2 separate regions of the Homo sapiens genome follow, and region 2 is linked to region 1. The links are contacts of gene promoters, found by promoter capture Hi-C in blood cells and fetal thymus (Javierre and others, 2016). All regions are on one chromosome and are shown on one strand. The core of a region is centred on a gene start or on the middle of the fragment in contact, and the rest is flanking DNA. Distances in the headings are between cores, read along the strand shown.

Evidence for each region. Contacts are between HindIII fragments. The CHiCAGO score rates a contact against its expected background, and 5 or more counts as called.
Region 2: a contact is called between a fragment that was not itself captured here and the fragment with the promoter of LHX5 in region 1, in 1 of 17 cell types (megakaryocytes). The highest score is 5.1, in megakaryocytes.

Annotation. Positions count from the first base shown.
Region 1 is chr12:113,470,182-113,473,892 of GRCh38, reverse strand. It overlaps LHX5 (LIM homeobox 5), which reads left to right and starts at 2,022. Exons shown (of 5, transcript NM_022363.3): 1 at 2,022-2,567. The coding sequence starts at 2,395. LHX5-AS1 (LHX5 antisense RNA 1) reads right to left here and starts at 1,890. Exons shown (of 2, transcript NR_126425.1): 1 at 1,811-1,890. RefSeq lists an enhancer at 2,140-2,940. The HindIII fragment of the contact is 6,712 bases long and covers 1-2,679 here.
Region 2 is chr12:113,743,034-113,746,564 of GRCh38, reverse strand. It overlaps LINC01234 (long intergenic non-protein coding RNA 1234), which reads left to right. Exons shown (of 3, transcript NR_110026.1): 3 at 1-1,988. Among named protein-coding and RNA genes, the nearest start is that of LINC01234, 29 kb to the left of the region's middle. The HindIII fragment of the contact is 802 bases long and covers 1,516-2,317 here.

The DNA.
Region 1 (3,711 bases), core at 773-3,272:
CACCTCCCCTAGATACTGTGGGGGACAGTGCTAGGCCTGAGAGGAAGGGGGACAAGTGGGCATCCCTGAGCCCCAACACAGGCATCCACAAATCCTGCTCCCTCAACCTCCGAATCCACAAAGGTAAGCGCAGCTAGGAGTACACACACAAACACAAATACAAACATAACCCCCTCACACACACATACACACACACACACAAAAGCCTACAGGAGTTGCATAAACAAAAAACTACTGTTTGCACAAATACACACATTTGCAGGCACACACACACAGCGACTGGCACACAAACATAGCTCTTCAGAATTCTGCACTCACAAACACAACCAAGCCAGCTCAGTCTCATACACACAGGGTCTCAAGCATGCACGCCCTCACCTACACACAAACACACACATTCAGATTTTTCAAAGTACACCTTCACATCAATGCTTGCAAACACAGACACAAACACTCTTACGTGAATGCACACGTACACATGAAAACACCCTCACATTTATGCATCCTCAAATAAGCAAACACACATAGGCACAGACCAACAAAAATAAAAGTGCACACAGTGATAAACACAAACATTAGCAGGACCATACACAATTACAAACACACGAATCTGCACACACGAAAACGCACACGCAGAAATTTACTCACAGGATTGATGGTACTAACACAATAAACAGATGCAAAAATGGAATTCTCAAACAGCGAGTATACACTAACAAGCTCAGGAAACACACCCAAACAAACATTCACAGCCAAGTGCTGGCACAAACCCCTCCAGCTCCAGCCCTTGGTCCCAGGCCCTACTCCCTCAGCCCCCTTTCCAGAAGCGAAAGGCAAATCCTGGTTGCCCATTCCCGGCTTCCCCAACTAGGATCCCTGGTGGCCACGCTGGCCCCAGGGGAAAGGAGGCCTGGTCCCTTCTCCTACTCAGACCCACACACCCCCTCCTCACGCACACCTGCCAACATCCCCCCTCCCCCTTAACACACACACACTCTCTCTCCTCACACTCTGGGCGCCCTGCCGAGCACGGAACATACGTGCGCCGCTTCTCCTGCGCCCAATGAGGGGACGAACTTGCACACCCAGCCCGCACGGCGTGAATACAAACAGCGCTCTCATAGTCGCTGGTGTCCCCCGCCTCAGCCGTACGACCCACTCACCACAGTGCCCCATAGGCTGACCTGGAATCTGGAAGGTGCAGCGAGGAAAGGAGAGACGTGGTGAGTGCCACCTCCGAGCTGTCTGCGGGAAGACCCGTCCACCCTGAATCTCCCCCTGTCCACATCTCCCTCAGAGCCCCGTGAGCAGCGCACTCAGGCCTGAAACTCTGGAGTTCGGGACCAGGCCAAATGGCACCCCTCCTGCTCCCCCGCCTCCCCACCCTGGGCCTGGGCCTGGGCTCGGCGGCCGGGCGGGGAAAACTACCCAGGCCGCGCGGTCTCCACTAGCTCTCTCCATGAGAAAGGCCCGGCTGGGCCCCAGCCCCGTGTATGACAAAAAGAAGCCGGGGCCGGCTCCAGGAGCCGGGAGAACCGCGCTGACGCAGCTTCAGGGCGCAGAGGGGGCGCGGGGGTGGGGGAATCCAATCTGGGCTGGCTGGGCTGGAGAAGGGGAGCGAAGTGTGGGGCGTGGGGCAACTTCTGCAAGTTCCAGGGATGGCGAAGGGGGCAGGGGTACCTCCCGGACTAGGCCTTGGAACCCGTGACCCCCAAATATTTGTGAGGAGAAAGAGAGAGGAAGAGAGACGCAATTTTCGTTTCGCGCTGCCCCCGCCCCGTCAGCCCCAAACTGGAAGGTAAATACTTACTTAGCCTCCGAACCAGGTACAAGCTAATACTCAACAATACTGATGCCTTGTTTTTTTTGCTCTGTCCGGACAGCAACGCTGTAGCCAATTTAGATATGCTATAAATTTAAGAGGTTGCCATGGCCACGGTGCGCCCATTGGCCGCTGGGCCCCCTACGTGCAGCGCCACGTCACCAAATCTGAATAAGGATGCGCGAATTACGCGGCGACCAGACAAAGATGAGGATCCGGACCGCTTGAAAGTGGGGGAAAGTGCCGGCGCCTCCGCCACCGGGGAAAGCCGCTCCGCAGCGCCGAGGCCAGCAGCCACCCGAGATACCTGGGGAAGCCCGGAACAGGCGCCGGGGCGTGCGGCCCGTGGCATGAGGTTGTGAACGCCACCCGCCCCCCACCACCCCACTCCGGGCAGCCCAGCGCCAGGCCAGAGATTGCCCAAGGACTGGACCGGCTGAGTCTTGGTCCGGACCAGACTCGCCCTGCAGCTGCTGAGACAAGAGGCGAAGGGCAGCGGAGGGCCCGGCAGGCCCGAGGGCCAGGGGCCCAAAGGGAGGGCAAGGCGGCCGAAGCCGCCGGGGCGCGGGGCTATGATGGTGCACTGCGCCGGTTGCGAGCGGCCCATCCTCGACCGCTTTCTGCTGAACGTGCTGGACCGCGCGTGGCACATCAAATGTGTTCAGTGCTGCGAGTGCAAAACCAACCTCTCGGAGAAGTGCTTCTCGCGCGAGGGCAAGCTCTACTGCAAAAATGACTTTTTCAGGTAAGAGGCCGCGCCGCTCTGCTGCCTGCGCGCCCACCCTGCGCGCGCTCCACTGGGGCGCTGGGGAAGGGGATACCCCCATCCCCATCCCAGCCTCCCCGGATCACAAGCTTAGATGGGGAGCGGGCAGCACTTTGCTCTCCTCCTGTCCTTGGTCCAGGAAAGGTCCCGAGCCCAGGCGGAGGAAGAAGGACGCTGCTTCGCTGCCTCACGTTGGCTCGAGGCCGGCTCAGAGCGCTGGCGGGGCAGAGGGAGGAAGCCCTGACAAACTTGCTATCCACTCCTCTCCGCCCCTTCCAAGCAGCTGCAACCCCAAGACAGAAGCTTCAAGCCCCGTCCCGAGAGAGAGGAAGGATTTTTGCATGAGTTAGAGACGCCTGAAGGCTTCTCGCTCCAGGCAGAATGTGTGAGCCCATCGGCCGCAATCCCAAACAGAAACTTCTCAGCTCCAGAGGGGGCCCAGCGAGGAAGGTCTCCCCTGGTGATGGGAGGAGAGAACCTCCCCCACCCACCTCCCAACCCCTTAAACATTTCCTCCCATGTTGAAAAGTAGAAACGAAATCGAGGCTGAGAATCAGGACCTCTGGGGTCTAGACTGGGCTGTGGCACCTCCCCAGCCCCCCTACCCCTGTGGGCCCTGTGGCTGGCCAGGGCAGATCACCTCTCTGGGCCTCAGTTTCCCCAGCCTGGAAGCCACTGGAGTTTGGGGCAGCTGAGCCCTACCTGTTTCCTCTGGGCACCCAGAGCCGGCTTTGTGAACAGGAATTCCCCGCGCTGAGGAATGGGGGCGTGAATCACGCCACAGAGAAAGGCAGCCTGCCGGCCCCAGCGACTCCGCACTGAGAATTTGAATGGGAGAAAATGTCAGCCGCTCCTTTACACGTGTTAACTCCCTGGACCCGGAGGCCCGATGCCCCTAATGTAGCAGTGCTTGCAAAGTGCCTAATGATTTTTGATAAGGTGCATATGGCCAATTACGCTGCCGGATAAGGCCAAAAGTGACTTATGGCTTCTAATGCCCTCACTACATCAATGTCACCCAAATTCGCCCTGTTTAGAGACATGGGTGTGAGTAGATGTGGGGTCCCTAGAGTCCTGGGTCCTCCCCCACCCCACCCCCAACCTGAGCCTCACCCATCTCCTA
Region 2 (3,531 bases), core at 667-3,166, 270 kb before region 1:
CACCAGAGGGAGGGCTGGAGGGAGAATCAAATGAAAGAGAGAGGGAGAGAAAGGAAGGAAGAGAAGGAGGGAGAATGGAAGGATGTATGGATTTGGATGTATGGGTTCCATTCCTTCTACCCTGGCAAAAGCTTACTCATCCTTCAGTGTCCATCCAAAATGGCATCTCTTCTTGGGCACCATCTCCAGAGTCTCCTGCAAGCAGGTAGCTACATCCCACAAAACAACCACCCATCTGACCATGCAAGTGTGTGGGGGAATGAAGACCAGCCCAGGAATCTGAGATGAATGTTTTGCTTCTTGCTCTGCCACTGACTCACAGGGTACCCCAAGCAAGTCCCTTCACCTCCTCGGTCTCAGTTTCTCCATTTATACTACTAAGGCAGTGGACATGATGGCCTCAAGTCTCAACATTTTTATTCCCTGAAAAGAAACTCTTGGTGCTGAGTGGTCTTCTTCTGCCCTGACATCTCACCTTTCAAACGCTTGTCTCTTCTCACCCCACCCACCACTTAGCATGTGCTCTTGGAGAACACCCAGGACTCAGGGTCTCTGCACACATCATGAGTCCAGCTCAGCATTTGAGGTGGAATCAGAGGAAAGGAAGGAGAGTGGGGAGAATAGTCAGTATTTTGGCAAGCTCATCATACCTTCCCCCTTTGTATAGAAACTTCAAACCATTTCCCTTTGAAGGCACTACCTCCTTCCCCCAGTTATAAATGAGTGAAGGTCTCAAGCCTGGACAACCAAATGCACAGTGATTGGTTCAACTCTGGACCTGTGACTCAAGCCAGACCAAGGGAGTGACATGCAGGGCTTTGCCTGGAACTATTCTGAAAGGGGCACTCTCTTTCTGCTGGGCTACTGATAATATGTGCATCCGTGATAGAAGAGCCTGCCTGATAATAAAGCCAATAAGGGAAGAGCAGAGCCAAGAGATGGTGGGAGAGCAGATGCCTGAAAATATCATTTGAGCCCCTGGGTCCAGCTGCACCTGAAGCCACCACGATCTCCTGGACTTTGCAGTTACTTGAGTTCATAAATACCCTTTGGCATTAAGCCAGATTGAGTCTTAATGCATATAGAAATAAGAGAAATGAGAAAAGAAATTGAAAAGAGAGACAGCAGAGAACTGATTCTCTACTAGAGCCTCCAGAAGGAATCAACTCTGCCAACACCTTGATTTTGGACTTGTGGCCTTCAGAACAGTGAAATGATAAACATCTGTTATTTTAAGGTACCTAGTGTGTAACATTCCGTCATGACAGCCCTAGGAAATGAATACAGCGAGGAAAATCCTACCAGCACAAAGGCATGGAGGTGCCAGGATGTCTCCTCTGCGTGAAGAGTAGATGTAGATGAGGCTGGAATTATCTATCCTAGCTGCCCAGACCCATGTGCCTTTGTTTTATGTAGTTACAGCACCTATGATACATATTTGTTACCATGTATGTCACTATGAACCTCCTCTGGAGGACGGAGAAGTCAAATACCTTAATTATTCCAACACAAGCTTGCGTGAACAGATAATCATCACTACGAGTATATTGTGTGCCTGCTAAGCACCACACCTGAGATAAGCATTTGCTGTGGTTTGAATGTCCCCTCCAAAGCTCATGCTAAAATTTAATTGCCATTGCAACAGTGTTGCAAGGTGAGAACTTTAAGAGATGATCAGGTCATGAGAACTCTGCCCTCGTGAATGGATTAATACCCTTATCGCAGTAGTGGACCCCCCTTTTCTCTTGCTGTCTGTCTCTCATGTTAGCTTGTGCTTCCTCCTTTCACCATGGGATAACACAGCAAGAAGCCCCTCACCAGATGCTGGCACCTTGCTATTGGACTTCCGGCCTCCAGAACTGAGAAATACATGTCTTTTCCTTATAAATTACCCAGTCTGTGGTATTCTGTTATAGCGGCAGAAAATGGACTAAGACGGCATTTTGCATACATTATCTGTCTTATTAAAAATAATGTTTTTGCCCAGGAACATAGATTCAAGTTGCCCTGAATATACATTATCTCCCTACATTATCTCTTTTAATCCTCACCTATTAGGTAGATAAACTGCTATTATCCCCATTTTGCAGGTGAAACCTCAAGCTCCCAAAGAACTGCAGCATCGAGGAAAGTAAAACCAATAGCTAGCATGTTCAGTAGTCCCCTTTACCCATGGTACAATACAGTACGCTAAGATATTCTGAGAAAGTGAGAGGCCGCATTCACGTATCTTTTATCGCAGTATATTGTTACAATTGTTGTATTTTATTCGTTATTGTTGTTAGTCTCTTATTGTGCCTAATTTATAAATTAAGCTTTACCACAGGCATGTGTGTATAGGAAAAAACAGTACGGATGCTCCTCAACTCACAATAGGGTTATGTCCTGATAAACCCTTCGTTCAGTTGAAAAGATCTTTAAGTTGAAAATGCATTTAATACCTCTAACCTACCAAACATCAGAGCTTAGCCTAGCATACCTTAAACATCCTCAAAACACTTACACTAGCCTACAGTTGAAAAAAAATCGTCTAACACAAAACCTATTTTCTAACAAAGCACTGAATATCTCATCTCTTAATTTTAATTTTTTTTTTTCTGAGTAACAGGCTGCTCTGTTACTCAGGCTGGAGTGCAGTGGCATGATCATAGCTCACTGCAACCCTGAACTCCTGGGCTCAGGCCATCCTCCCACCTCAGCCTCCTGAGTAGCTAGGATACAAGTGCGTGCCACCACACCTGGCTAATCTTTTAATTTTTATTTTTGTAGAGACGAGGTACTGTTTCCCAGGGTGGTCTTGAACTCCTGGCCTCAAGTGATCCTCCCACCTTGGCCTCCCAAAGTGCTGGGATTACAGGCGTGAACCACTGTGCCCAGCTTCTTCTTATATATTGAATACTGTACTTAAAGTAAAAAATTGAATGGTTGTATGGGTACTGTAAGTATGTTTTCTGCTGAATGCATATCACTCTCACACCATTGTAAAGTCAGAAAATTATAAGTCTAACCATCATATGTTGGGGACCATCTGTGTATTACTATCCATGGTTTTAAGCATCCACTAAAAGTCTTGAAATGTATCCCCCTCAGGTCAGGGGACACTGCTGTAATAATAAAAACAGCTTGCACTTCCACAAGATTCAGACGTGCCAGATAGTGGTCTAAGAGCTTTGCATGCATGTTAATTCATTTCACTCTCACAGTAACCTGATGAGGGACTTACTATGATTCTTCCCATTTTACAGGTGAGGAAACAGAAATAAAAAGACACTAAGGGCTTGCTCAAGCTTGAGCTGGAATTTGCACCCCGGCAGCCTCACTCTAGCTGCCTGTTACTTACTGCAGGCCTGTCGGGTGCCAGGCACTGTGCTGAGCATTCTACATATTTCATCCTCCCAGCCTCTCAGTGACCAAGTGCAGAAACCTGTGACCATTTCATACTGAATATTTGAAGGATAAGCAAGTGATCGTGGCACACAAAGGGACACTTACTTTGGTGCTTCCTTCATCCTTATTTGGTTTTGGACACAT